7 separate regions of the Homo sapiens genome follow, and all the other regions are linked to region 1. Evidence: promoter capture Hi-C in 16 types of primary human blood cells and fetal thymus (Javierre and others, 2016). All regions are on one chromosome and are shown on one strand. The core of a region is centred on a gene start or on the middle of the fragment in contact, and the rest is flanking DNA. Distances in the headings are between cores, read along the strand shown. Region 1 holds the start of SLC1A2 (solute carrier family 1 member 2). Region 2 has its middle 9.4 kb from the start of ELF5. Region 3 has its middle 27 kb from the start of ELF5. Region 4 has its middle 12 kb from the start of LINC02707. Region 5 has its middle 17 kb from the start of LINC02707. Region 6 has its middle 16 kb from the start of EHF. Region 7 overlaps EHF (ETS homologous factor).

Region 1 (4,040 bases), core at 1,128-3,627:
TGCAGAAAGATGGGATTAATTGGATGGGAATCTTTCTAAAATGCCGAAAATCACTTTGGCTCTACATTGAATGTCACATCATTTGACAGCTTTCATTTAGGACAAAGGTGAAATAAACTTACTTAGTTTGGGGTTGTTGTTGTAACCTCTCCTTCTCTATCTGGCCATCAAAATAGGGAGTGAGCTGGATGCAGGATTTGGAAGACTAATATCATCCATCTTTTTCACAGATGTTTTCCACCCTAGCCTTTACAAGCAAGGATAAGTCTAGAAGGTCCATGAAGGCAACCAGAAATTCTTTCATATCTTTTCTAATATAAAAGCCTTTTTAACTAAACATGGTAAGACACTGATCTTGATCCATATGGGCTCCTAGTATCTATTTCTAGAGATCTGTTTTAGCACAAGGTACCACCCTCCTTGTACACAGGTGTCTTCCTGAAACATCTTTTTGGAGAAATAATAATCAAAAAAGTCTAAACTGCAAAATAGGGCAAAGGGAGAGACAAAATTTCATGCAATGACAAGATGCCAGATGCCTTTGGAAGGACTCTGGGGGACAGAAAATGAATGAATTCCTTCTCCTGGACAGAGAGACAGTTCTAGAAATATTTTCCTTCTATTGGAGATTGCAGTCTAGAGATCTGGCTTTGGATACCAGCTCTTCAGCCTGTTTAGAGATCCATTCCCCTAAAACAAGCCTGCGGAGTTGGTAAAATTTCTTAGGAGAAACTGGAAAATGCCAACACCACCACTTGAGCCCAGAGAAGCCCCTGATATTTGCTTTTCACATAACATGGATTTTGTGATCGCTTGCAAGTGAGTAACTGCAATTTTGGGAATTAACCAAAGGGCTGAGCTGCCCAGTCTTTTCATTGCCACTCAGGTTCTACGAAGCCCAAAAAGTTTTCTGGGAGATACTGGTCCAAGGACTCTGTGGACCTTTCCTTTGATGTGTGAGTATTCAAAGAATCCTTTTGCCCCCTGCAGCCCCTTCTGTCTCTTGCTAAAGACAATTGTCTTTAGTTATCACTGCGAGGGAGCTTTCCCCATGCCAGCTGGAATCTTGGGAGGCAGGACACGACTCCAGATCCTCGGGCTGAATAGGGAAGCCAATGCTATCCCTGCCCGCTGGAGTCTGGCGACTCCTGCCCTTGTCCCAAACCACACGTTTTCCCGCCTCCCGGGAAGCACCCAAATCTCTTCCACCCTTCCTTAGAGCTAGCCAGGGAGATTCCGCCTTCCAGGGACAAGGACCGATCGGAGCGGGCCCAGCATCTCCATGGCGACTCTGCAAACCTGGCGTTCAAGGCCGCGCGCGCTGGTCCTTGCCCCGCCCCAGGGCCCTGTCTTGGCTCATTCCTTCCGAGCCGGCACCACCTGCAAGCCCGCCTCGGGCCTGGGGCGCCGCGCTCCAGGCGCTGCTACCCCGGTGTCTGCTCACACTATGCCCAATCCCCTATTGTTTTGAAATCCCAAAAGTAACCTCAAGAGGATTTCTTCCTCACACTCTCAGGCCCCCAGCGCACCTTACCCTTTTTATCAAAATAAAACAACCCTCCACCTCTCGCATTTTCAAAGGATTAAGCAGCAATCTCCAGGAAAGAAAATCAATCCCCTCCCCACCATCCCATCCCCAGCCAAGCTACGGCTCCGCCACCACCTCCGAGGCCCGCCGCCGCCGCCTCTCTATCCGCATCCCGGATAGGGGCGCCACCACCCCGCGCGTGACCCCGCTTTCCCGCGGGTACAGATAAAAATCCCCTCACCCTTCCGTAGATGCCATGGTCTGGGGAACGCCCCCTCCTCTTCAGCACTATCCGGCAGCTGTGGGCGAGGGAGAAAGCGGACGCCGGGGTGAGCGCGAAGTGCGGCCGGGAGCGGTATTTAAGAGGAGCCTCTGCCCGCCCTTCCACCCGCCTCCGGGGTAAGCCCTTTAGCGCCTCAACGGGCGCAGGAGGCTCCTGCGGGCGCTAATCCGCGTCCCGGCTCTCCACGGCGCGCGACCCGCGCTCCCCTCCGCCCGCGGGGATGGCGCTTGGCGGGGAGCTCCGGGGGCTCCGAGGGTGGCTTCCCCGAGAGAGCGATGCGCCCAGGGCTGCAGGAGGGCGCACGCCGGCGATGCGCCCCTGCAGCCGCTGCCACCTGTGCTTTGCTGCGGGGCTCGCGGGCGCGGCGAGTGGCGGGAGCAGAGAGTGGTGGCAGAGGACGGTGAGCGTGCGTGCGCGTGTGCGGGTGTGTGCGCGCCTGGGGAGGCGGTGGAGGCCGCTGCGCTCTGGCTCGGCGCCGGCCAGGGAGGGATTGCAAGGTTTAGCCCCGCCGGAGCTGGGGATTTGCAGGCGATCCCTCTCTATTTTCGTCGAGAGCTGACATCACCCGCGCCGCCGCCTCGGGCAACTCCTTTAACCGCCGCCCCCCGCCCCCATCTCCAGTCGCGGTCCCTCCTCTGCCATCCCTCCCCCCAGCCTCTCGCCATAAATTAGCCAAATAAGAAAAGAGGCCCCGCCGCTCGTCCGGGAAGGCTTGGGCAGCCGGTGGCAGGAGCCCAGGATCTAAGGAGTAGCTATTGTTTCCCCTGAAGCCCGCGTGGCCCCAGGTCACCCCGTGCGGGGTGAAGCGCAGGCGACCGCGCGGAGACCCGGGATGCCCCTCCGTCTCCGCCTCCCTGGAGCAGCCCCTGGCGCTCCCTCCTCACTCCCCGGAGCACCCGCTTCAGCTCACACTCACCCCCAAACTCACAGGCAGGCACACCCACCCCATCCTCCCACGTCTGGGGGTCCCAGGTCCAGCGGAGTCGAGCGGCTGAAACACGCGGGTGGTGCAGCCTAAACGCGGCCCAGCTGCGCTCCCTCCCCCGCCGAAGCTCGAATAAATCTCTGGCCTTCAATTATTCAGCGAGATTAATATTAATGCAGCTCCCTGGGGGCGGCGGGCGGGGTGCAGGGGAGGCCGGGATTTTTTTTTTTTTTTTTTAGGCCGAGAGAGGTCGGCCTCGTGGGTGCCGGCTGAGAAGGCGCGGAGAGTTGGCCGAGGGGTGAGTGGCGGGGGACGGTTCTCCACCCACTCGGCGCTGCTCGCCGCCTGCTTCCGTGTCCCGGGGGCGGCGCACAGAGACAGATGGGCTTGTGCAAGGGAGAGTTCGAGCCTTCCGGACGCCTTTGCATAAAAATGACGAGACCTGTGCAGCTTTGATTATCTCTGGAATACTGCAGGAACCTAGGGTCCCACTACTTGCCGACCCTGTGAGCGCAGAGCAGGCAAAGCCTCACTTTCCTCGTCTAGGCAATGGAACCCAAAAGAACTCACTTGGAGGGCCACAGGAGAATTAAACAGACTCTCTTTTTCCCCGGGGTAGACGATCTTCGGATTTGCGCTGTGCTGGACCTTGTTAGACGATGGAACGCGACCGGCCACGTGCAAACTCTCTGAGTAGGTCCCGGGGATGGTGCCAGAGGAGCCGGAGTCCCAGCAGGACCGATTGGTAGTTAAATGCCAGGCGCTGATATCCGAAGGCTTGAGTTCTTCACCACCTTCTAGCTGAGTAACCTGGGGCAAATTCCTCCATCTCTCTCTTCATCCCACCTGTAAAATGGGACTATCTTCTCCCACTTCTCTGTGCTAAGAGAACTAAATGAAATGGAGAGGATATGTAAAACTCCTAAAGTGGCGTCTGGCACCCAGTAAACCCTCCAAAAATATTCAGTGCATTTTCAGAGTCCTTAGAAGATAGTTTATTGGACAAAATATCCAAGTATGAACAGACAGATGAGAAAAATAACAAGAAAAAGAGGGGAAAACACATTAATAAAATTTAAAAAATAAATCTCTGCTTACCTCCTTCCTTTACTCTCCTTTCCAAAATCTGAATCCAAACGTCATCTTCCATCCATGCCTTTCTCCATCTCTCCCCTCCCCCCTTCTCTCTCAATCCTGTCTGCACCATTAGAATAATCATGTCTGTACCTTATTCATCCTAGGTTCCTTCAGAACCACTCTAACTTTGCATTTTCTTTATTTAAAAAAAAATGCCATAAGCATCT
Region 2 (4,040 bases), core at 461-2,960, 900 kb before region 1:
TTCATGTCAACATGGACTCACTTGTACCCCAAGCCGTAGGCCTAAGTGGGCTCCCCTTAGAACTTGTCCACCCCTAAGGTAAGTGTCTGGGATTGGAATTTTTGGAAATTATTGTGAAGCAATTGGACAGGTGTCTTCAATGTCCTGGACATCACTCTTACCCACATCCCTGTTCATGAAACTATGTTTTAATTCTTTCTCAATGTGTGAAGGGAGATGGGTAGGATTCTGTTTCATGTTGTATGGACAGTGATATCTCTCTGGTTCCAAAGAACCAGTGAGATGTGGAACTTGGCTGAATATTTTTGAGTGATGCAATAATTTAAAAAGATATCCATGGTTTTGCAAGGAACATAAGCTACATAAGAAGGCAGTTAAAGAAAAACCAGTAACAGAAAGAGCACTGGGATTTGAGTCTAATTGATGTAGGTTCAAATCTCAGTTCTATCCCTTGGTAGCCAAGTTACTTATCTCCTTGAGACTTGGTTTCTTCATCTGAAAATAAATTGTCACTTCATACAGTTTTGGTGACAATTAAATGAGATAACATGGTATATGTAATATATGAAGCACTTAGCCCAGTGCCTGGCATATATTAAATACTCAATAAATGATTATTACTGTGATGTCTCCATTTCTAAATTAGCAAAATGAAAATAATATTAACTACTCACTAGATCAATTGAAATAATAAAGGTGTATGTGTCTGGCACATGGTAGATATTCATTCATCCATTTTTTCATCTTTAGTTTATTTGGAATCCATCAAAAGTTTACAAACCCTGGGAGTTAGGAGAAGGCCACTTTATTTGGCCAACAGTCCTCTTTCATCTTAAATGGAGCAGTAGTTTTATAAAATGTTTATTTCCTTATCTAAACTGTTCTTTTTCCCCCGGGCCCTTATGTGCCTTTCTGGGAGCAAAGAAACTCCAGGAATCCCAGCAAATCACTCTGCAGAGTGGCCAACAGGTGTGACATCAGAAGTCCTAATAGTGGGGCTTTGGTGAGTTTGCCTTTTTGAGGTGCCCATGGGAGAATGGATGCTATCTACCTCTACAGGAAGGAAGCAGCCACTTGGTGTTTCTGGCTTTCAGGCTGTATCCACCCCAGGTTTCAGCTGTCATTTTGGGCCAAGTTAAAGGCAGAGGGCAGATTTTGCACAAGGCCCTCTGAAGTGGGGAATAATTTGGGTCAAGTGTTCCAGCTAGGGTGAGCAGCAAGTTGCACAGTCAGCCAGCAGAAAAAGGCTGTGTGTGGAGAGGCCTGGTCCAGGCACTAATGATTCAGGTAGATTGCCAGGAAGGGCAGAGGCAACCAGGCTGGCTGTGCCTGTTCCACAGTCTCTGGGCAGTTTCTCGGCCTTCAGCTTCACTGTGGGGGAACCTAGCCTCGGAGTGTTACTGGATACCCACCTCCCCACTGATGCCTGATCAAATTTAAATCAAACCTGCAGTTCTGGGCCCTGAAAGTTCATTTTTCCTACCCAGTGCTGAGTGAAGTTGACTTTAGGCCAGACCAAACAATATTCAGGAGGAGCCCTACCCATTCAAGATACTTTGCAACTGACAAACATTTTTAAGGTGATGGACATTTAAGACAAACCATGATAGGTCTGGAGATAAGATTTGAAAATTTGGCTGACAGTTAGCAGCCAAGGAGGGCATCTGCAGGTGGAGTTTGCAACTAGGAACTCTATAGACTCTAGCTAATTATTGTACAGATATAGAAAAGCCTCTTTTTTGGGAAAAGGGTGATGACAAATCCAAGGTATAGTGGATAAAACAGGCACAATTTCAAGTCCAGCTGAATAAACCTGGGCAAGCAGACACACACATGCATGTGTGCATGCTGTCAGTGCTACCACATACACTTCCATCCCTCATACAGAGAGTTCACCTAGCACCTAGACACACCCCCTACATCCACCACACTCTCCCCACAGACACCCTGTCCTCCCCACCGTACAGACCAACCACACACAGCACAGACCCCTCCCTCTTCTCCCATGCACACATCATACACACAGCCATCAGATAAACACAGTCCCCTTAGGAAGCCGATTAATAAAACTATTTTATCTATAATTACACTTGACTGATAATAATGTCCTCAGAGCCTGCATGGTTAGATTGGCTCAGATTGTAACATCCAGATTACAGCTGAACTCCCTTTGAACTCTGGCCACATTGCTGGTCTCTCCAGCTCAGAGATTACAGATGGCTTTAGGTGGATTCACCCCACGGAACCAAGAAGGTAAGTAGAATTCCAGCTCTCCTTGCTTTTCTTTTCTCTCCAAGCCTGTACAGATGATGCGATCTCTGAAAATACATGGCCAAATACAAGAGGAAGGCCGAAATCAAATAACCTCCTCCAACCCACCCTTGTGTATCCTGGTGGGTCACCTTGCAAACCAGCGTCAACCTCAGATTCCACAGAGGAGGTTGCCTGGAATGCTCTCTTGAAGACTGACATTTGAAAATAATCAGTTTAATTTCTGGGTCTTGGGATCTTGGGGACGGACTCCAGTGAGCCATAATTAACTCTTTAAAGTCTTCACCGTGTGCTGCAAATAGTAAAATATCTTATTCTTTATGATGTAATGCTGAATGGAGGCAGCAAGGAGGCTTTTCAGGCTAATTACATGTTGGAACGAGGTTAATGACATGCCGGAGATTCTTTGCGTGGCTACCCTGACATTGACAAGTCAGTCGGTAACATGCTAGGGCTAAAGACAGCGACTACTTTTAAAGAAGGCATGCGTCTGGAAACAGCTAGACAGGCCCCTAATCTGGCCCCTCTCCTGTCCGCCACCCCCCCGGCCCCGACCCCACTTCCCATTTTTCGGGAATTAAGAAATCTTGATTTTAAACTGGCGTTCAATACCAAGGGCCTGGAGATTTGGATCGGCATCCTCATGAGTCTCAGCTCTATCTTATGCTTTTTACAGCAGCTGAATTTAGCCAAGGATGCAAACAAAAGTCCACTATCTAAGCGGATGTTTTTGGGCTGAGCAGAAGGCACGTCTGTACAGACAAGCAAGGTATGCATCAATATGAATGACTGGATCACAGTAAAATGCCCAAGACACGGGAATGAGTTCTGATTCTAGCCAACTGAATGAGCTCACATTCTGGTCCCACTCTGCAGGTGGGCACACTGGCATCTCAAAATCATGCAAGGAGACCCGACATCTGTTTCCATTCTTCTACCTGGGGCCAGGCCATACGTTAGCCACATGCAGAGCTGTCTCCAAGAGACTCCAGCCCAAGCTCCAGTGTGCCGTGCATAGCTTTGTGACTCCCGGCATTCCCTATCTGGATGAAATTGGGTAAAAGTAAAAATGCATCACACAGGCAGACTAAATAGGAAAAAGTAGCTATGAAAGATGGTCCTGCTTCCTAAAGAGGGTTGTCCCACCCCTTAGGAGGGCATTGGGGGCTGGCTTGCAGGCTAAGGTGTAAGGAAAAGGGCCTTAGTTTCCTTGCCACTTGCTAGGAGAGCCATCTCTTCTTCCTCCCTGGCAGATGGCTTGGGGCAAGGGCAGCTTTGCCCGCTGGACCCCAGCATTTCCTCTCCCCCCAGGTGCCCTTTCCTCTCCCTGCACACTCAGACCCGCACAGCACCCACCTCAGCTCCTTCGTCCCACCAGGCTGGGCTGGACTCGGGTCCTCCAATGTAGTCATCACCCAGCCCTGTGAGGGCCCCGGCTGGATCGACCCCTCCTCCTCAGTGAGAAGGACACTGCATGGCTGCCTCCAGGCAGGGGACACCACCCCTGGGTGTCCCGGCCCCGAGCAGCCTCCCAGGCGCAGCAGGGTCCTGGAGTGGCAGCTGACAGACGGCTCTTCCACCTCCACAATGCCCAGGGGTCAGCAGAGGGTTAGGCAAGTCTTTCGTTTTGACATGAGCTACCACGGAGAGAGACAGCCAGAGAGAGACTTTTGCTCTGTGGTGAGTGGCTGAAGTCTCCGTGTGCTGCTGATGGGTCTGTGGTCTCCAGTGGAGGTGAGGTGTGCAGCGTCTGGAGGAGCCAGAAAGAA
Region 3 (4,040 bases), core at 880-3,379, 880 kb before region 1:
GGATAACGATGAACCCTACTGCTTAACATTGCTGTGAAGATTAAACAAAATGATGGAGAATTAGTCTAGCGCTTGACATGTAAGAAAAACTTAGTAACAGCTGTGGTTGCTATTATAAATCAATACAAATCTACTGAACATTTAGTAGGAGATAGGGCAGAGTTTTAGGAATTGACTTCTAGGTGGCTTGAGGCAGCATCCAGACCTCACCTTGACCCAGTGTACATTGTTTCATCATTTCATTCATTCACTCAACACATATTCATTGCCTGGCTACTATATAGAAGCTACTGCAGCTTTCACAGTCCTGGTGTGGGAATCATGATTAATGCCGGGAAAATAGTTTGTAGTTTTGGCTGACTGATGGGTTAGCATTCTAGACTATCTATTTCTTCACTAGAATTTACTTTGCTAGCTCCCAGCCCTGTGGTCAGGGACAAGGGATCCTTTGCTTCACTTTAGGGGAATGCTAAAGGTGAAAATAATACTTCTGTTTCTGCTATTTCTTAAACACAGCGACTGTAAAGGAAGCTTAAGAGAGAAGCATATGGGTTCAGACAATACTTTCTGGCTGGTAAGGAAAGAAACCACAAGGATTAGCAGGTACACTGCACTTAACACACACACACACACACACACACACACACACACACACACACACACACACACATATATCAATAACAAGCCAGGAACTTAACTCTTTATGTACTGGGCTGAAATTCAGTATTCATGATCCATAGCCTTTGATTGGTAGTAGTAGAGTGTTCAGTAAACATATACATATATATATTTTGATTTGTAGGTATTTTGTTCAGAATATAGCACGTTTTGCCTGACTCCAGTTGGAGAAGCATTGGTTATATGCAACACTTTGTCTGACTGTAAAGTAGGATTCTGTAAATAGAACTTTTCCCCTTTAAATTCTTTTTGCCCATTTGATTCTTAGAACTTTTTGCCCCGTAGATTCTGCCCAATTTTTGAATGGCGAGCATCCTAAAAAACTCTGGCAGGTGGTGGTTCAATATGCACAACACTTTGTTGAATAGTGGTTTAATGTTGATTGATTCTAATTTTTTCTCTAGTAAACCTGAGTGCTATTAGCATTTTGGGGAGGACAACTTTTCTTTTTGTGAGACTGTCTTTTGCATTTCCAGTGAAAGCCAGTAGCACCCTCTAGTTATTACAACAGCTGAAAATGTCTCCCCCTTTTCTAGAAGCCCTGGAGAGGGACTGTACCAGCCCCAGTTGAGAATCACTAGCTAATACTGTATGTCTATAGTAGGTTTCCTTGTTTGGCAATGGGGGTCCAGCCTAGAACTTTCCCCACTAGTGGGGAAACTCCACAAACCCTGCACAGACCCATGTCAGATTTTATTCCCTGTTGCTTTTGGTGCTTGAGGACCGGGCTTGACCCTTGTGGATTCTCAATAGATATTTGTACCTGGTTGGTGGAAAGCGTATACATATAGTAATTATAGCATTAATGTCACATAACTTACTCAAACTGAACTGCAGAGTTTTTGTAAGCAGAGGTGATATTCAAAATATTTGACAAATAGTACTCGCGCAAGCATGGACCAATCAGAACTTATCCTGGAGATTCTGGAAGCCCCCCCGATGGAACAGGCAACTTTTACCAGCTGGCTTGTGGGAAAGTCCAGGGGGTTCCAGGGATAGAAGTCAGGGAAGCAGGGCACAGTGAGAGATGGCATGTATTTGTTAAAATTTTAGCAGCCAGCAAGGCAATCCTAGAACATGCTTCTGAATATTAGAAGACCATTTTGCAGAGTGCATTACACAGAATGTTTTCAGGACACCCTGATGAAATTTCCTTACAAAAGGTTTTCTGGTTTCTAGGCTTTCACCACTTATTTTTCTAGAATTCTTTTCCCCTTGCTCAGTCAGTGGGAGTCCAGATTATTCAAGAAAAGCATGAGAAAGAATTAGGATTCATCCGGTACTTCATGGGAGTAACACACAAATGTCTGTTCCTCATGAGCTCAACCGAGGTTTGCTACACTCACAAAGCCTTCTACCCTCTCTGCTTCTGCCCCTGAAGCTGTGACCTTTGGAAGAGTAGTTCTCCCTGTGAGCGTCCTAAACTTCAGTCTCCAGAACTTGGCTAAGCAATTGCTCCTGAGGGAAGGAAGGGCTAGTGACAAACATTCGGATTGCAAGAGATCGGGAGCTCTAGAGTTTAGTTCTGCTTCTTCTCTTACCAGTTGAGTAATTTTAGGCAGACAGAGAAAAAGTACATATTAGTGTTGGAAGTCTGTGGGCAAATCTCACAGCCTCTCTCAGTTTCAACAACGATAGAATAAGGGATCTGCGCTGACTGCTCTTTAGAGCTCATCCAGCCAGGAGTTCTCGAGTCCCATCTCCTTTGACTGTCTCTGGGTCATGGAGGTGGAAGACTCATTCCTGTTTCAGTCTCATGCTCACCGTTCTGGCTGCTGGTCAGCTCCTCCCTCACTTACATGGCTGGCACCTTCGGGCTCTACATATGGGAATCTAGGGCTTGGTCCACTCTCCTTTGGTGTTTGCCAAAGGGTCTACTGGGCGGTGGGGCCTCCAGCCCTAGGCCTTAGCTTAGGGGGTCTCCCATGGGAAACTATGGCAATGTCTCTTCTTTCCTCCTTTACATTCACTCCTGCACTTCTCTCCCTATTTTACTGACTCTCACTCATGCTGTTTCTCTTTCTCTCTCCTCCTCTCACCTCATTTCCTTCTTCACACCCTTAGACCTGGGCCCTACCAGCTCACCTACTTCAACTCCACGGAAACCAAAATGCTAAGGTCCCTGTCTCTGTTGTTAGATTGCTGTTTCTTTCTCTGGGCCCTCAGGAAAGTTACTTAACCTCTCCTTGCCTCAGTTTCCTCATTTATAGACATAATATGAATTCCCAGTTTGTTGGGTTAATTAAATGAGATGATCCATGTAAAGCTCTTACAGCAGCATGTCCAGCAGATGGGAATTGCTCACTGCTAGTGATTTCTTTTCTCCCCTGCAGCAAGTTGATTTGGCTCATGAAATACATATGGGTGGGATAAAGTTAATTATCAATTTGCTCTGGGAAATTTGCATTATTTTTCCTTCAAGCATTTAAAAAATAGATGAGCGATTTGCTAACTTAGTTTTCTTCTTAGATTCAGCTGCCATTCCCATCTTTTCCCACAAGCACACACATACTTCAGTTTCCCTGAACTATTTGGGGTTCCCAGACTCATTGAGCTATGTTATGCCTCTTTGCTTTTGCATTTTCCTGGTGTGTCCTTTTGGCAGTCTGTCTTTGTCTTGGTGGTGATGGGACAGAGAGACTTCTTGTCAATGGATGTTTCAGGAATTGGCTCACATGTCACCTCCTCTGAGAAGCCTTTCCTGACCACACACCACCTCCTTCAGGAAGCCTTCCCTGACTGCTGCTTCTCTCCACAGCAGAGTTAAATGCTTTTTTTGTGCTTTGTACATATATTGTCACAGGGCTTATACCATGGTGGCATCATTATATCTACTTACTTGTCTCTTATTCTAAATGCAATCCTTGAAGGCAGGGACTATGTTTTATCTATCTTCTTGTTCTCAGCAGCCAGTCCAGGTTTTTCTTTTTTGGCATAGCAAGTGCTTAGTAAATGTTAAATGAATGAAGAAGATGGGAAGAGACCTTCTAATACCGCAGTAGAGAAGTCACAAGTCATTGTTCTAAAGGACATTCAGTTTACTAAGATAGAAGCTTTTCTGTCCTATTCTTACCTTAGGCACAATTTTAACAAGTTTTTTTTTGTTTTAACCATAGCTGATTAGAAAGAACAGGTTAGAAGAGGTGGGGAAGAAGCTGTTAGAGGTAAGCATACTGAAAGCAGAAATGACACCTGACCCTCTGATAGCGATAAGAACAGTGAAATTACAAAACGCACAATTGAACGCTCAAGTATGGGCTTGTTTCACGTATGGGAAGCAAATTTAGGTGGCATAGGACATTCCTGCACAGCCCAACAATTAATATTCAATGGAATGTCCCGAGTTACAAGAAGGTTAAATT
Region 4 (4,040 bases), core at 736-3,235, 860 kb before region 1:
AGGAGCTTAAAGAACTGTTGTTAAGGGCTGGGGGAGTGGAAGTCTGGATAGGTATCATTGCACTATCCCAAAGACATTCCACTGTAGCTGTGATCTAAATGTTATGGAACTGCTGCCCCTGATGTTTTCACTATGAGTGCCTCTGGCACTCATGGCACAGGTGACTGGACATTGGAATGAGAACTCTCTAAGCACTCATGTCTCTATTATATTGATGCTTCACACAAGGGCATTATTGGGGGAATCTAATTTGCCTCTAGAACCATGCCTTTAGGGGTATATTGATTTTTTTTCTAGCTCCTGAGTTACAGAGAATGGGAAATTACTGCCAACAGTCCTATTTAGCACAAACACTGCAAATGTCACCTTCCCTGGTATATTAGTCAGGATAAGTTCTGCTATGCTGTAGTCATAAACAACCTTAAAATTTCAGTGACTTAATAGGACAAATGTTGATTTCTCACTCACCAAATATCTGGTGCAGGCTGGGTGACCTTCCTCCTTGTTATAGGCATATCATCTTCTAGAACAAATGACCTTCAAGACATCAAGGCAGGAGAAGAAAGAGAGAGATGGAGCAGGCACAGGTATCATTAAGCACTTCAGCTCAGGAGTGGCACGTGTCACTTATGCCTGTAATTTGTGTCCAAAACTAGTCATGTGGCTCACCTAGCTGTGAGGCAGGCTGGGAATACTGGGAAGCACATGGAATATTTGGTTAGCACTAGCTGTTTCTATTACTCATGGTAAAAAGAGGAGGTGTTTCGGTTTCAAGCTGGGGTGAGCCTGGTTCTCAATCTTTCTTTCCTTCTCTGAAAGTGCCAGAAGACACAGATTTTAGAGCTTCTCCAATGCCAATCTGAACACATGGCTTATTAGGTGTTTTGGAACCATAACCTGTAGATCTGTGTGGCATCTTTGGAGAATCAGCAAAAATGTTCCTTCTCTATAAATAACTCTCTGACTGATCTAATTTGGCACCTAAAATTTCCACCATTAATATGCTGTTTTTGAGCTACCTTAAGGATATGCATATTTCAGTAGGTAGGTTAAGCAATGAGTCATCTTGGATTATACTGGCACACTTTCAGGGAGCAGCATGTGGGATGAATGTGCTGAAGGCATGTATGGAGGGATGAGAAAGGAAAATTGGTGTTAGGGGATCGTCTGGATCAGCAAGAGGGCTCTGGGGACCAGAAAGGAGAGGACTGGATACCCCAAGGGAGAAGAGAAGGAGGCTTCATAAAGATTCTACACATCCCACCTTTGCCAAGGCCTGGATGTGCTGGGTCCTCCAGGGCACCTACATCTTTACCCAATCTCGTCCAATAAGGTCACAGATTCTCTGGACTGAGCCTGCTTTTAGAAGATAAACTCAGAAAGATCCATCCAACTAAAGTGTAGCGAAGAGAAATGAGGTTGAAATGTATTAGTTGATTAATCTCCCCTGGCTTAGAGGGCAGCAGGTCTGCCCGTGGGATTAGAAGATGGATTTTAAATCCTGACTCAGCCACCCACTCACTGAAGTTCCCATGGACTTGTAAAACAGCCATGTGACCTCAGGCAAGGCGCTTAATGTTGCTGCACCTCTATTGGAAGAATTCAGTGAGGAATGCGTGATAGGGCCAAGGTAGAGACTTAACAGATCCAAGCTCAGCATCCCTTCCCATATTTATTTCTGTAAAATAAGGTGTGTGAACCAGATCTTTCTCTAGAGTCCTGGATCTCCATGGTTTTCTTAAGGGACAGAGGAGATGGGGAGGAGGCTGATTGGAGAACAGCATCTGGACTCTCCAGTCTTGTTTAAACCTGAGAAATCCCAGGTAAGATTTAGTTCGGAAAAAAAATGTGTTTTGCTGTGAAAATGAACTCTGAAATCCTCTGGAGTGGGTGATCACCAGAATTTCTTTTCACTAACACATTACCATCCCAAGAAATAGTAATGTTTATGAAAATGCCTTAAAATGATAACACACTATACAAATGTAAAGCTATATTATTGTCACTATCATTTTTCATTGTGGTTTTAGCTTGAATTTTGGTTAGAACAGGTCATAGTATCAGCCTCCATAACTCTTCCCAATAGCTCCACTAAATTATTGCAAAGCCCATTTAAAGTGAGATTGTTCAGAATGACATGAGAGGCTCCTATCTTTTCTTAGGAAGGAATGTATTTTTGCAGTTCATCTCTCAATGCATTTATTGATATTACCATATCTAATATAGTGATAGGGTGTTTCTGTCTGTCTCTATCTGTCTCTGTCTCTCTTAAAAACAAGATTATTGACAGGGCGTGGTGGTGCGGACCTGCAGTCCCAGCTACTCAGAAAGCTGAGGAGGCAAGATCGTTGGAGCCCAGGAATTCACGACCAGTCTGGGCAACATAGTGAAGCCCTGTCTGTAAAAATGAAAACAAAAAGATTATCAAGGTGTTGTTTCAAAAGCGTTTATAAATATTTTACCATTTGTATAAAATTTCAAACCATACAACTAATGCTAAATATTGCTAATGGATACTTGAATATATGATAAAATATAAAACAGGTGTGGAAATAATGAACCCACAATTCAGGAAAATGCTTAAAACAATTCAACATCTGGAAACCACTCATGGCATGGAGTAGGTACTCAATAAATACTGTTAAATAAACAACTGGCACTTTTTGGGGAAGGTGGAAGAATAAAAGTAAGGGAGGTGTGCTGAGACTTCAATTTTAATATCTTATTTCTTAGGTTGAGTGTTACACAGGCATTTGTAATCATATATACTTTTGTACACTTGAAATATATATATTTGTGTGTGTGTGTGTGTGTGTGTCAGAGTCTCACTCTGTCTCCCAGGCTGGAGTGCAGTGGTGTGATCTTGGCTCATTGCAACCTCCACCTCCCAGGTTCAAGAGCTTTTTGTGCCTCCATCTCCTGAGTAGCTGAGACTACAGGCAAGCACCACCACACCGGCTAATTTTTGTATTTTTAGTAGAGATGGGGTTTCACCATGTTGCCCAGGCTGGTCTCAAATTCCTGGCCTCAAGTGATCCAGTCACCTTGGCCTCCCAAAGTGCTGGAATTACAGGCGTGAGCCACCATGCCCGGTCTGAAATATTTCAAAATGTAAAAAAGCTAAACCCAAATCCAGATGTCTACTTTCAAGGTGCTCACAGGTCAGATCTAGGATTATTGCTACTAACTGATATTTATTATCCCAGCACCAGCATGTTTGGCTGTGTGTCATGGGTAAGTTACTCACCTTCTCTGCGACAGTGTCATCATTGTAAAATAGGGATAAAAGAGTTTAGACCTTGCAGAGTCCTTCAGATTAAAGGAGATAATCAGTACGTGGCACTGAGTACCTGCAATATATTAAGTGGTGTGTGCTCAGAGATATGATCACATACAGTATCTTGGATCTGCCCAGCAACTCTATGAAGATGAGGAAACAGACTCAGGCAGGTCAGAGCCAGAACATAATGTTTCTGGAATTTGAACGTAAACGTTCCCCTTTCTCTTATCCAGGCTGAGTGCTAAAGGAATTGTAAAAATGGAATTTGCCTGTTGCCTGCATCTCCCTCTCTTTTTCTTCCTCTGTGTCCTCTGAATATCTAGCACCAGTGGGACTTTACAGTGTTGGCCTCAATGCTGTAGGGTGCTGTGTGCACACTTGTCTTCAGCTCCCTGAGTTAGCAGAGCATTGCCCCAACTCTGCCCTCTGGCCAGCTCATGTGCCTTACAACTTTCTGTTGCCAGAAGAGAGCCCTGCTCATTCTCTAGACTCAACCAACAAAAGCTGCCTACCATTTTCAGAATGCCAGTGGGCAGTGAGAAGTGCAGAGCTTGTGTCCTGAGCTTGGCAGCCATCTTGCTTGGTGTTAACAAAGAGTAATTAAGTGATCTCATAAAACTCAGTGGTGGAGGTTGTGGTTCAGAGCAAGCTGGGTCAATGCCAAGGCTACTTTGGCTTCATCTGGTCCATAGCCCCACATTTCTCTTCTGATGGTTCAGTTCCGGGAATGAGAACCAGTCTGAGTGTAAGAAGACTTGGG
Region 5 (4,040 bases), core at 1,074-3,573, 830 kb before region 1:
ATGAGGGTTTTTATACTCAAGTCACTGAACTTACTATCTTCAGGATCCAAAATCCCCAAACAGAAGGCATCCCCTACTGTTAGCTCAAATAGCTCTTGCTGGTTTAGAGAGTTAATGCAAGCCCCACTGCCTCCTGAGCTGGAAACATGAAACAGAAGTTTCAGTTCCCTAATCAATCCATTCTTTCTTCCTCTGGCTTCTGATAGGCCTCCTCCTTATCTTTGTAAACCCTGTAGCTGGTTGCTAGTTGAAAGTGCCTCTGATCTCCCTCTTCTGCCTCCCATGATGTTGATAAAAAGCACGAGGGCACATGCAGGATGAAAACGATCGTGGTCCTGCCAGCCTGAATTATTAAAGCATTTCAGTCCTAAGTATGAGGTGTGTATATGTTGGGGTGTGGAGTGAGTTGTGGAGATGAGAGACAGCTGAATTACATAAAGTTGAGAAGATCTGAGTTCTAGTCTTGAAATTCACAAGCCATCTCTATACAATAGTTCCGTTACTCAGTAAAGTAAAAGCATTGGATCTAAGCTTTAAGGACCCTTCTAGTTCTTTCTGATTGGAATTGTGTGACTTCATCTTTTGTGGGTTAGAAACTCATCACTCTGTCCAGTTATTTCTATATTATGCCACCAGATGGCAATGTTTCCTTAACCCCAAAGAAAGTTTTCATTCTGGTAAAAAGTCAAGTTTTGTTGCCAACTTTTCCCCCTCTGAACGTGCAAAAGAATGATTTTCCGAAGCTGTGGAGGAAAGAAAGAACTCTCCTTCTGAACATCTCAGGTGGTTTATGCTGGAAACAGACAGGACCCTGTTTAGAGAAGATCTCTCTTTTCTTCGTGGACTGGGAACTCCAGTTGGAATGATGTCTCCTGTGATTGCGTATGGTGGGAGGTGGGAGATGTTGGAATTGGCGTGTCCTCAGGAGGCTTGGGGGTGGGGGAGATGTGCCCTAGCTGGTGGGCCTGCATGAGCCCTGCAAAACTCTGACTTATAGAGGGGCATCAGATGCCAAGTTTTACCAGACCATGCAGAACTAGGAATTGCCAGATGCACTCATAGGGCAGCTAAAATGGTCCTGGCAGAATCAGACTCTTTCGCTCATAAAGGTCAGAGACGCAAGAAAGCGACATAAAGTCCAGCCCTTTTCTTGTGCAGATGGGGAAATTGAGGCCTAGAGCAGGTCAGCTGTCCTGATTCTATCTCCTTGCCAAGTTACTTTGTATTTAAACATTTCAAGTAGACTTTTCAATCATCTCATCTTGCTGTGTTCAGCTAGCGCACCTTGTTAAGCCTGTTGGCCTCCGGGCCTGCCAAGCCCCTGCATCTATACACACCAGGGCATGCTGCATGCGCTCAGTGAGACTTCAACAGCTGACTGATTCGTTCAAACCTATCAAACAGCAGACTTAGCTAGTTGGGGAGAAAAGTCATTTAAAGTAATTGCTTATTAATCTGCAAAACAAGTCTCATAGCAGGTTTTTATTTTATTTTATTTTTTTTTTTGCTTTTAACAACGATATAATAACAACAAACATTTGTTTAGTGTTTCCTGTGGACCAGGCTCTGTGTTAAGCACTTAACATCACTATATCATGCACTTTTGCTAATAAAGCTGTGAAATAGTTATTACTATTTCTGCTTTACAGCTGCAACAGAGACTCAGAGAGGTTAGGTAACTTGCCCCAGGTCACAGAGCTGGAAGGAGCAGAGCCAATATTCACACCCTGATTTGCGTAATTCCAGATTTGATCTTCTAGCTTCTATGCTGTGCTGCCTCTTCATGACAGTTTTTCTCATGTACAGGATCTGATGCAGAAACTTATCGGAGTTTCTTACCGGAGCACCAGTCACCTCTCATCATTTTCCTGTTTTGACGTGAAGGCTCAGTGATAGTGAGCAGGCTCAGGGTCTACAGAGTTGGTGATATCAGCATCACACAGGACATTCAGAATGTTGACTCCAGGGATGTTGAGAGATACTCCTGCACAAAGCTGCCAGCACCCGTGTCCAAGAAACACTCAGAATCTAGGTCTCCTTGTATATTTTCCCCACTACCTGCAAAGGTAAAGAGGAACAGGCAGTGCTGGGACCGAGGGAGCGACAGTCCTAATGGAAGCTAGTGTGTTGAGAGTCTCCTCTGTGTCATGCTCTGAGCGACATGTTTTATATGCACGATCTCATTTAGACCTTGTGACAGCATGTTGTAGCAAGGACCCCATCATCACAGGGGGCAAATGTCTGCAGTGCAGAAAGTCGTCCTGAAGAAATGGATGTCAGATAAAAACAGTCTTCATAAATCAATGATCCTGTTTTACCTCAAAAGTGCATGAAATGGAAATGGAAATATCTTGTGAAGATGTAGACAAATGACGGTCATTGCCCAGAGCAGTAGTTACTGTCAGAAAAAGAGATAAGGATTTCCAGTCTGACAGACTGGATTCCTGGCTCAACACCACCCCCTTCTAACCATGTGACCTTGGGCAAATTACCTAACCTTTTCTGAGTCTCAATTTCCTCATCTTCCAAAAGGGGATAATATCATATATGTTCCAAGATTGCTGTGAGTATTAAATGAGATGATGTATGTAAAGTACCTGGCCAGCAGTCTCTGGCACATAGTAAGTATTCAATAAAGACTAATGGTGGAGATGAGTATAGGGGCTACTAATGCCCATCCTTACTCCAGAGACTTCTTTCTGACCATCATGAGGCACTTTTGAATATCTAAACCCATTTAAAGCCCACTTTTCTCTATGGCTGGCCATTTCTGCCTATTGACAGCTAATTTGCCTCATCCTACAGGACACCTTCCATGTTTCCCCAGACTCCAGAAATCAGGTATTAAATTATCAGGGCTTCAGGAGCCATGGTCTATGATGAGTTTACTACCTGTGCCCAATAAATGTTTAAGAAATAAATAAGAGCCAATATAACTATAAAGACCAAGAGCCAAAATAAGTCTCTTTGCTTGCGCTTTAGATCTTAAGAGTCCTTTATATTCAAGCTGCTCAGAGTCAAACGTGTGCCTAATAAACATTCTACAAAGGTCCTGGCGTGGTGTGACCAAAGGAAGAGAGAGGGCTCCAGTGTCTGTCACTGGGAGACCAGATGGACAGCCACGTGGGGCAGGGCCACTGGTGCCACATGTCCAGGTCTGTTAAGCCCTATGAAAGACACTTGAGTCAAAATGTATTTCTATCTAAGAAAGAAGACTATAAATGGAAAAGGGAGAGGGGAGAAGACCTCTCAAGGGCATCTCCCTCTAGAAGTAGAGATTGTGAATCTGCAGCAGAAAGGTTTTAAACAAGGGATAGCAGAATGCCTGGATGGTGTTCTAGTGCCTGAATGGAAAAAGGCCACAATGACCAACAAATCCCACCTACATCCGCCTTCCTCACTGCCTGAAATCCCACCATTAGGATTTTTTTCCTTTTGGGTTAGCAACCAAGAAAGAGTAAAGTCTGGAAGACTCTTATTCCACATCTTCACTTTGCAGCGCCTCTTTTTTTTTTTTTTTTTGAGATAGAGTCTTGCTCTGTCACCCAGGCTGGAGTGCAGTGATGCGATCTCAGCTCACTGCAAGCTCTGCTTCCTGGGTTCACATCATTCTCGTGCTTCAGCCTCCCGAGTAGCTGGGACTACAGGCACCTGCCACCACTCCCAGCTATTTTTTTTTGTATTTTTAGTGGAGACAGGGTTTCACCGTGTTAGCCAGGATGGTCTTGACCTCATGATCCGTCCGCCTTGGCCTCCCAAAGTGCTGGGATTACCACCTCTTCTTAATTACAAACATAAACAAAAACTAACAACTTTCTAGTTTTTTCTTTTTCTTTTTTTTTAAATTACAAAAGAGATCCATATTCGTCAGAGAATAATTGGAAAAAAGAGATAAGCAAAATCAGAAAAATAAATTCAGCCTGTAATCACCCAGAGATAACAATTATTAAAATTTAGGTATTCACTTTGTTATTTCCTTTTATAACAAAACTTTTTTTTCTTGTGAAATTTAATAGAATACAATTGAACTATTTTTTCCT
Region 6 (4,040 bases), core at 633-3,132, 810 kb before region 1:
GGTGAGGAATGACCTAGAATCCTGGCCTCTGGCCTTAGAGCCTCACTTGTTAAAGGGAAAGGGGCAAATAAGATCTGAACATCAAAAATTATTTCAGCTTGCCTTCCCTCTCACTTTTCTCTGTCCCCTTCTCCTCTTGTCTTCCCTGCAAACCACTTTGAGTCTCCTTTGGTTACCAAGATAAAACCAATCCACATTAACTATGGCTGGTATTTTTTTCGCTTTTACTCCAAGCCAGTGCATAGAGCATTTTGCTCACATTAGATTATGGAATCCTTCAAACAACCTGATGATGAGTGGGTGCCATTGATACCCCCATTTTATAGCTGGGGCAACTGAGGCACAGGGTTGTTAAGCAGCTAACCTGAGGCCACTCGGTCACTTCCTTGTGGTGGGCCCAGGATTTGAATCCAGGTTTGCTCAACTCCAAAGCCTGTGTACTAAACGACACTTCCTGCCTTGATAAGATAATTGTGGTTGTTACTTGGCCAAATAAAGAGCCTATGGAGAAGTTGTTTCCAATGAAGCATATCAGCTTCTAAATCTGGCTGAACATTGGACTCTCCAAAGGGGCACAAAATACAGCTTTCCGGGCACCATCTTGAAATGACTGATTCAGCAAATTGGTCGTAGGCAGCGAGGCACCTGTAGTTTGGTAAAGCTCCCAGGTGATTCTGATAATGAGCTTGTGCAGAACCCATTTACCTAAGGAGAACGCGGGTTCAAAGGGACTGGACGGCTCTTCCTTATTTAGAGTAGGAGGCTGTTGGCTTCCGAGAATGAGGGCTAATTAACTTTGGGGAGCTTCCTGCAGTGACCTTTGCCTTCGGGGAAAGTGTGGGGATTGAGATAAGAGAGAGAAATCCTTGGCGGCTAGGAGGAAGGGTAGGGTGTTTGCTGTCAGGCTCCAGGCTTAGCCCTCGTGGTGTCCCTCCTGGAGATGGTGTGCACTGAGTGCAGTGGCTGCTGGAGAGTGGGTGGAGAGATGAAGGTGACAGGGGTGGGATTAATTAAAATATCAGGCAGTGTGGCTGGGCGCAGTGGTTCACACCTGTAATCCCAGCGCTTTAGGAGGCCAAGGCAGGTGGATCACCTGAGATTGGGAATTCGAGTTTAGCGTGGCCAACATGACGAAACCCTGTCTCTACTAAAAAAAATGTAAAAATTAGCTGGGTGTGGCGGTGCACTGCAATCCCAGCTACTCGGGAGGGTGAGGCATGAGAATTTCTCAAACCCAGGAGGCAGAGGCTGCAAGTGAGCGGAGATCACACCACTGCACTCCGGCTGGGGCAACAGAGAGAGACTCTGTCTCAAAGAAAAGAAGCAGTGAACCTTTAGATTATCCCACTCTAAAAGTGAGGCAACCTTAGTTTTTCTGGGTCTTTAGAAGCAGAAGTGCCCTTGGCTATTTCTAGGCTGAGGGCCCCACCTAGTTCAAGCCTTCTAAACATCCAGTGTTTTGCTATATTCATTTACCACTTGTCCTATTAGACTCTTAGGTCTTTTTTTTTAATGACTCACTTATTAAAGAATGTGCATTTATTTACAAGGCAATAATATCACTACCTTTAATGGAAAATTAGCAACCCTGGCTACACCTAGAAGGTAACTGTTAATAAATAGGATGAAACCCAAGGCTGGAATTAACTTCTCATTGGATCCTGCAGCCTATGCTCCTTTCACTGAAGGGTGATATCAGCCAACTGAGACCTCCTCTAAAGTCTGTGAAGGATTGAATTAAGAGAATTGGAAAGGGCACACATTTCTCATGATGTGATTCAATATTGATTAATTCCAGGTTCACCTATTATCTAAAACCATGTTACTGAAAGTGGCTTATAAATACCGCAGCACCAGAATGTAAACTCCACAAGGGCAGAGTTTTTGGTTTTGTTTTGTCTTTTAAAAATCTGTTCATTGCTTTATTCCTAGACTCTGGAACAGTACTTGGAATATAGTAGGTGTTCACATATTTATTGACTACGTGGACTCTTTTTAGACTGAGAAGCGGAATATAAAGTCAGAGGGTCCGACTGGTGATCGAATGCCTTCGTTCTGTACTCAAGCCCACTCACCCACTTAGTTTTGAGAACTCTGGTGACCCAACCTACAGCCTGTCCCACCTTCAACTTATTCCCATTCCTTGGGTGCACGTGTTGCTGTGAGGATCAGATGAGGTCATGGATGGGCAGGACTCTGAACTGCGTGCCCTCTGCACAGGGAAACGGCTGGGCCGATTATAAATTGCAAAGGGGATGCCTGATGGTGGCCCCATGACTTTTCATATGCTTTGGGCTGTTGTGAGAGAGAGTGCCCAAAGCCTGATTCTGGAACATTTTCTTTGCTGTCTTCTAAATGAGAACCTGCTTGCTTCAATTCTCCCACTGAGCAATCATGCTGACATGAGGGAGGTGGAGTCAGACCTTACATTGTTGAGACCAGATTCTGTGTTCTACGAGTATTGGGAAGGGTGATGCAGGCAGGCACCCACCATGTTCCCTGTGAGTGCTTATTTTTAATAAAAACCTTGGTATACTGCTATTAATGAAAATAATAATAATAATAATAATTACTCCTGCTAATAATATAAGGAAACACCCACTGGTCTGTGACTGAGCCAGCCTTGCCTGAAGGCAGGGGAATGAATTCAATGACCTCTTGACACTGGTCTCAGCCCTTTGGTTCTATTACCACCTTGTAAACCTGAGGTTGTTCTGTTTTTATCCCTAGGGAGTTGTGGTTAGAACCTGCCAGAAATTTCTCACTATGAATCAATCTTCCATTGGTCACTGCCCTTTTCAACATGCCTGTCATTCAAGACTTACGATTTCCTAGGCATTGACAGAGAGAAACTGGCCATGTGGACCAAGGCAGTGGGATTTACGTGACACCCGCCAAGCCGGTGGGGCTAAGTTCCATTGCTGAAGTCTGATACCTGTCATCTGCTGTGGGGTGACATCCACACCATGTCATTCTCCATTCGTTCAATACATATTTGTGGATTCCTAAAATGCCCCTGCTGCTGTGATAGTCCAGCTCAAGAGAGAGGAAGTACATGAGATGTTACCACACAGTGTGGTATGTGCTGGAGAGGTGAAGACTCTGGAGCAGAGAGGCAACAACTCAGGTGGGGACTGAATGGTGGCGGGGTGAGCTCATCAGGAAAGGCCCCCCCAGGGAAGCTGTGTTTGGGCTGGGGTCTAAGGATGAGCAGCAGTTAGCCAGGGAAGACAAGGAGTAAATGTACCTAGGCATGTGGGGCAGTCTATGCAATAATGTGGGGAGGAAGCAGAGAGAAAGAGAATGGGAGAATGGCCTGCCTGTTTGGGGAAATGAAAGGAGCCAGTATGTAAAAATCAGGTGAGAGACAGCTGGAGATGAGGCTGCAGAAATAGGTAGGTGCCAGGTCACAGAGGGCCTTGTGAATAGTATCATGGACGCTGGACTTTACTCCAAAGGGCATGGGAGCCATCAAAGGGTGTTGAACAAGGAGATGCACATTATAGAAAGGCCAGGAAGGCCTCTGGGATCTCCTCTTCTCCAAACTGTGGCTCTGGGGACAGCTCCCTATAGTGGTCTTGGGCAGCACCAAACTGGTGTTTAGGCTCAGCTCACATGCAGCTCACAGCAAGATGGTGACAAATGACTCATCCTCAAACAACAGAGCAGGCATAGGAAGGAGGCCCCGGTTAGGATCTTGCTTACCTGGTTTGCTGGTGGCCTATGCATTTAATTGTAGAACAGAATGCCAAGCCACTTTTTAACCTTTCTTCTACACCATGCCCTGCACCTCCCCTTCTCTCTCTGCTCTTCTCCCTTCCACCCTCAAATTTCTAAGCCATGTCCAGGTCTCGTTTTCACCTGTGCCAGAGAAGATCTATCTGACTTTGGCCATGGAAGAGGTATAGCAGGTATCAGTTGGAGAGGGCTGGAAAAGCTCCCTGGTGCTAGATATGGACGACCTGAGCTTCCAGTCCTGGCTCTTGCAGCCACCAGGCATTTGACATGGGCAGAAGCACTTTTCCTCACTGAGCCTCTGT
Region 7 (4,040 bases), core at 485-2,984, 790 kb before region 1:
GAGCACTGGGTTGTGATCGTTAGACCATCTTGCTTTTCTGAAAGCCCAGGGCAAGACCCCTGCTTCATGTCACAGTATCAAACACAGACATAGAAGCTTGTACAAATTATTGAGAAGTTATTGTCTTTTCTCCCTTCCTCCATATGGAGTCATCTCTATGCCCTTTCATACAGATGTGATTTACGAAGACCTCTGGGTTAGGGGTGGGGTGGTGAGCAAGAATCCCGTGGCAGAATCTGCTAACACACTTGAGAAGCAATGTTGTGGTTTTAAGGAACTCAATCTAAAGCTTGAACCTGATTTTCAGGGATACCATTTTGCTGCCGTTTCAGCCCATTTCTCTTGTTAAGATCGCTCTCTGGTAGAGTTGACGTGACACTCATTTCTGTTGTGGGTGGGGCCCTGGTTGGGAGGCATTGGCTCCACTGCAGCCTGGGTGTCTAGAGACCACATTCTCACCCTGCCTTTGTTACTGGGAAACCGAACGCGGCGCTGTGGCTTTCAGCTTGGGTAAGCCGGGTCTGCGGCGGGGATTGCCATCTGAAGACAGAGGCAGGAGGGCAGCCACACCTTGCCCAGGTTCTCTTAAATCTCTTGCTCTATAACTGAAAGGAGGGCATAGATAATTAACTTTATTTGACATTTTTCATATCTAATTTTTAAGAATATGATTTTAAAATAATAGATTTGTTCTAAAGAGCAAACAATCTTGCTGTTATTAAAAACGTGTTTACTTAAATTGAACGGGGTTTCAAAGGGCCAAGCTACTAAGCTGTGCAGGAAACAAACAGTGCAGTGAGGAGAATGGCTCCTCACCACAGCTATTCTTAGGGTGGGACATAGTTTCAAGCCAAATGACATTGATGTCCGGAAACCAGGATGTGCTGAAGTAGAAATTTCCAGGGATCCCTCAGAGTTATTTGCTAAAATGTTTATTATTCTTCAGAGGGGGGTGGAAATATTTCTTTAAGAGTCTTCCTTGAAGAATTTTGAACTCCAGCTTTGGAGTGATGGGAGCACAGTGCAGGGAAGGCGGGATGTGAGGTGGTGTGCTGGACGGCAGTCTAGGGACCTGGTCTAGCACTGGCAGAGCTGTGTGTCCCAGAGCACACATTCCCCTTTGCCAGGCTTTAGTTTCCTCCTCTAGGCAAAAGGGTTTGAACCTGACCATCTTTAAGATCCATTTTAACCCTCAGATTCTGTGGCTGTGGTGATTGGGGGTGGTGGGAGTACCTGGGGGTCAGCAGGATAAGCACGAATCTGTGAGAGCTGAGAACAGGTGGGAGAAGCCTTCTAAGGATGAGGCAGGAAAGATTAGCAAGAGCCCTTAAATGGATTCTTTAGGGCCTTCAGAATTTTGGCTAAAGGCTATACTAGTGGAGGTACTAAGACCTGACACCTGGAGCCTTTATTAAGGATGTTAGAATCCACTCCCATGACAACATCCCAGCTTTGCCAATTTGCCTCATGTGTCTCAAGCTGGTGGGAATGTAGAAGTGGATGAAACAGACTGTTTTGTGATGGCAGGGAACAGCCTATGCACAGGGGCAGGTGCTCTACTGGTGTCTTCTATAAAACGCCAAAGCAGCCCGCCAGAAAATGGACATTTAGGCACTCGTGGTGTCTACTGAGTTTGTATGGTACTGATGAGCTTGCTTGACTGATTATCCATGACTTACTGAGTAGATCGAACGTATGTGGACTCACTTCTCCTAGAGGAAGACCCTGTGGCTGCCCCAGCCACTGAGCAGCCTAACCTGGAGACCCTGATGTGCCCAGAAAGCGTCAACCTTGTATCTGGAGAAACCAGAACTTGCAACAGGGCCAAGCAGGGTGGCCCATTTAAAGAGGCTCCTAGGGTTTTAATTGACCTTGTTTTAAAAGAGACACCCTGTAAAATACTCCTATGAAAACTTATTTCACAAGCACCTAACCGCATTCTGTCTTTGGTTTGTTTTACGGGGCCGGGCCCCTTGTTCTGGTCAATTGGTCTGCATTATCTCTCCTCCTCCAATCTCACCACACACCCTGGCCTCTGGGAGGCTTCCTCCCTTCTTTTTTTTTGTTTGTTTTGTTTTTTTAGCATCTTAGTTGTTACTAGGGGTACTTGCCTACTTATTTAAAATATGGCCAGTATAGGTGCATACAAAATGTGCTTTCTGATTAAAACAAAGCCAAAAATAAAAAGAAACCAAAATGCCTATTATAGTAGTTGGATTTTTAGACTAACAGACCACCTCATTAACCCTGTCATTTTACCATAACAACTTATTTTTATCTTTGTATGACCTTGTCTCAATGTCCTTTTTCTTTGATGTTGTTGCAATTATGAACATCAAATTTCATAGCTGCTTTTCCACCCCACTTTCTATCACAGAAGCACAATAAATAATCTTGGGGGCTGGGCTCTTGTTGGCCCAACTGTGGCTTCAAAACATTTCAGTTGCCTGTCCAGCCCTTTCTTAGCCTGATACAACATCCCCCAAAAGTCTGTTGAGCTTTTCCTGGAATAAGAAGAGGGTCTTCTACTTTTTGAATAGAGCAATGGAGATTGGAGAATATGGTCATCTTGTGGAGGTTATTCCAGGCTTCTTCTTAGGAACCTTAAAAAAAATCTCCTCAGTAGGGCTGATGATATATTCTGGACAATAAGGTGAGCAGAGTCTGAAAGATGAGAGCAATTTTCAATCTTGTCATGATTTCATCTAGTCAGCCTCATTTCATCTAGTCATGAGGCTGACTAATGATAAGACTTGCTTTGTCTTTGCAGTGTACTCTAGATTTGACTCTAAATTCAGCCTCTGTCTTGATCATGCCCACTTAGAAAATTAGAGTGCAGCTAGCTCACCTTTTAGTCATCTTAATTCCACTAGGCAGAAGGCTGTGGGTCAAGGAATGTTGATGGAGTAAAATTTGACTGCATGTGTATCTGAAGGGGTAGGAGGCTAAGAGATTTTATGGCTTGGAAGCTGCTGAGATGTGGTGTAAAGAACACTGGACTTAGAGTCCAGACACCTGAGTTTAAGCTGGACTCTACCACTGGGTAGTTGAATGACTTTGAGTGAGTTATATAAGCTCTAGCATCTAAGTTTTCTCATCTGGAAAATGGAGTTAATAACATCTACTGCATTGGGCTGTTGTAAAGATTAAATTAACAAAGAATGTGAAAGCACCTGAACAAAAGCTTGTGAGTAAATAATTAGTAATTTGTGGAATGAACATCAAGGGAAGTCTTCAATTTGGGTGTTTTCAGTGAGTTTCTGTTGGGTCAGAGTGAATGGATATTAAATTCTGGGATTTTGGTTTGTGTGTGTGTGTGTGTGTGTGTGTGTGTGTGGCGATCAACATTGGTTCTTCACTGTGACCTTAGGAAAGAAATGCAATAGGGTTTTTATTGGGAAGGTGGGTAGCAGGGAGATGCATGAACCATATTAAGGGGGGACCTCCAAATTGAACCTTGTTTTGAGTCAACTGCAAACCACAACCAAGGAGGTCCTGGGAGACCTGGGGTGACTTGGGGTGATTGGGTATGCAGCACATTCCTGTTCTTGTGTCCTGATGCCTGGCAAGTAGGGACCTGCAGAAAATACTGATTCTCCTCCAGGCAGTTCACATGACTAGCTTTTAGGAGTGAGTATACCGTTGCCCACCCCTAAAATTCTTGATCATGTCTCCAGATGTCTACTGACCACTGATGCTGAGGTCATGAATCTTGGGCATTCTAGAGGCTTTGGGAAAAAAAATTCTACTTACTTCTTTTGCCCAGACACTCTGGGGTCTACCTCTTGGTAAATTATTCAAATGAGGTTTCTGGTCATGCAAATGTGGTTTCTAGAGCCTATTTGAATTGAACAAGTAGTTCTTATTATTAGTAAAACAGCAAGGATCCCTAACTTGGGGTCCAAGGGTAAATTCAGGGTTTCTGTGAACTTGGATGTAAAAAAAAATTGTCTTTATTTTCAATAATCTCTAACTAGAATTTAACATTTTCTTTCAATATGAATGTAGGCAAAACTCCATGGTAGTATTAGCTGCAATTG

Evidence for each region. Contacts are between HindIII fragments. The CHiCAGO score rates a contact against its expected background, and 5 or more counts as called.
Region 2: a contact is called between a fragment that was not itself captured here and the fragment with the promoter of SLC1A2 in region 1, in 2 of 17 cell types (activated CD4 T cells and non-activated CD4 T cells). The highest score is 8.1, in activated CD4 T cells.
Region 3: a contact is called between a fragment that was not itself captured here and the fragment with the promoter of SLC1A2 in region 1, in 2 of 17 cell types (activated CD4 T cells and non-activated CD4 T cells). The highest score is 6.1, in activated CD4 T cells.
Region 4: a contact is called between a fragment that was not itself captured here and the fragment with the promoter of SLC1A2 in region 1, in 6 of 17 cell types (total CD4 T cells, activated CD4 T cells, non-activated CD4 T cells and 3 more). The highest score is 7.5, in total CD4 T cells.
Region 5: a contact is called between a fragment that was not itself captured here and the fragment with the promoter of SLC1A2 in region 1, in 7 of 17 cell types (naive CD8 T cells, naive CD4 T cells, total CD4 T cells and 4 more). The highest score is 12.0, in naive CD8 T cells.
Region 6: a contact is called between a fragment that was not itself captured here and the fragment with the promoter of SLC1A2 in region 1, in 1 of 17 cell types (activated CD4 T cells). The highest score is 6.3, in activated CD4 T cells.
Region 7: a fragment that was not itself captured here is called in contact with the fragment with the promoter of SLC1A2 in region 1 in 1 of 17 cell types (activated CD4 T cells); the score reaches 7.2 in activated CD4 T cells.

What each region holds. Positions count from the first base shown.
Region 1 is chr11:35,417,181-35,421,220 of GRCh38, forward strand. It overlaps SLC1A2 (solute carrier family 1 member 2), which reads right to left and starts at 2,378. Exons shown (of 11, transcript NM_004171.4): 1 at 1,770-2,378. The coding sequence starts at 1,786. It overlaps SLC1A2-AS2 (SLC1A2 antisense RNA 2), which reads left to right and starts at 1,877. Exons shown (of 2, transcript NR_186310.1): 1 at 1,877-1,927; 2 at 3,356-3,822. RefSeq lists an enhancer at 2,024-2,524. The HindIII fragment of the contact is 13,046 bases long and covers 1-4,040 here.
Region 2 is chr11:34,521,150-34,525,189 of GRCh38, forward strand. No RefSeq gene overlaps it. Among named protein-coding and RNA genes, the nearest start is that of ELF5, 9.4 kb to the left of the region's middle. The HindIII fragment of the contact is 6,939 bases long and covers 1-4,040 here.
Region 3 is chr11:34,538,907-34,542,946 of GRCh38, forward strand. No RefSeq gene overlaps it. Among named protein-coding and RNA genes, the nearest start is that of ELF5, 27 kb to the left of the region's middle. The HindIII fragment of the contact is 3,200 bases long and covers 530-3,729 here.
Region 4 is chr11:34,557,329-34,561,368 of GRCh38, forward strand. No RefSeq gene overlaps it. Among named protein-coding and RNA genes, the nearest start is that of LINC02707, 12 kb to the right of the region's middle. The HindIII fragment of the contact is 4,398 bases long and covers 1-4,040 here.
Region 5 is chr11:34,585,776-34,589,815 of GRCh38, forward strand. No RefSeq gene overlaps it. Among named protein-coding and RNA genes, the nearest start is that of LINC02707, 17 kb to the left of the region's middle. The HindIII fragment of the contact is 3,589 bases long and covers 530-4,040 here.
Region 6 is chr11:34,602,918-34,606,957 of GRCh38, forward strand. No RefSeq gene overlaps it. Among named protein-coding and RNA genes, the nearest start is that of EHF, 16 kb to the right of the region's middle. RefSeq lists an enhancer at 705-999. The HindIII fragment of the contact is 5,828 bases long and covers 1-4,040 here.
Region 7 is chr11:34,623,808-34,627,847 of GRCh38, forward strand. The region is part of intron 1 of EHF (ETS homologous factor); the gene reads left to right. Among named protein-coding and RNA genes, the nearest start is that of EHF, 4.7 kb to the left of the region's middle. The HindIII fragment of the contact is 2,895 bases long and covers 288-3,182 here.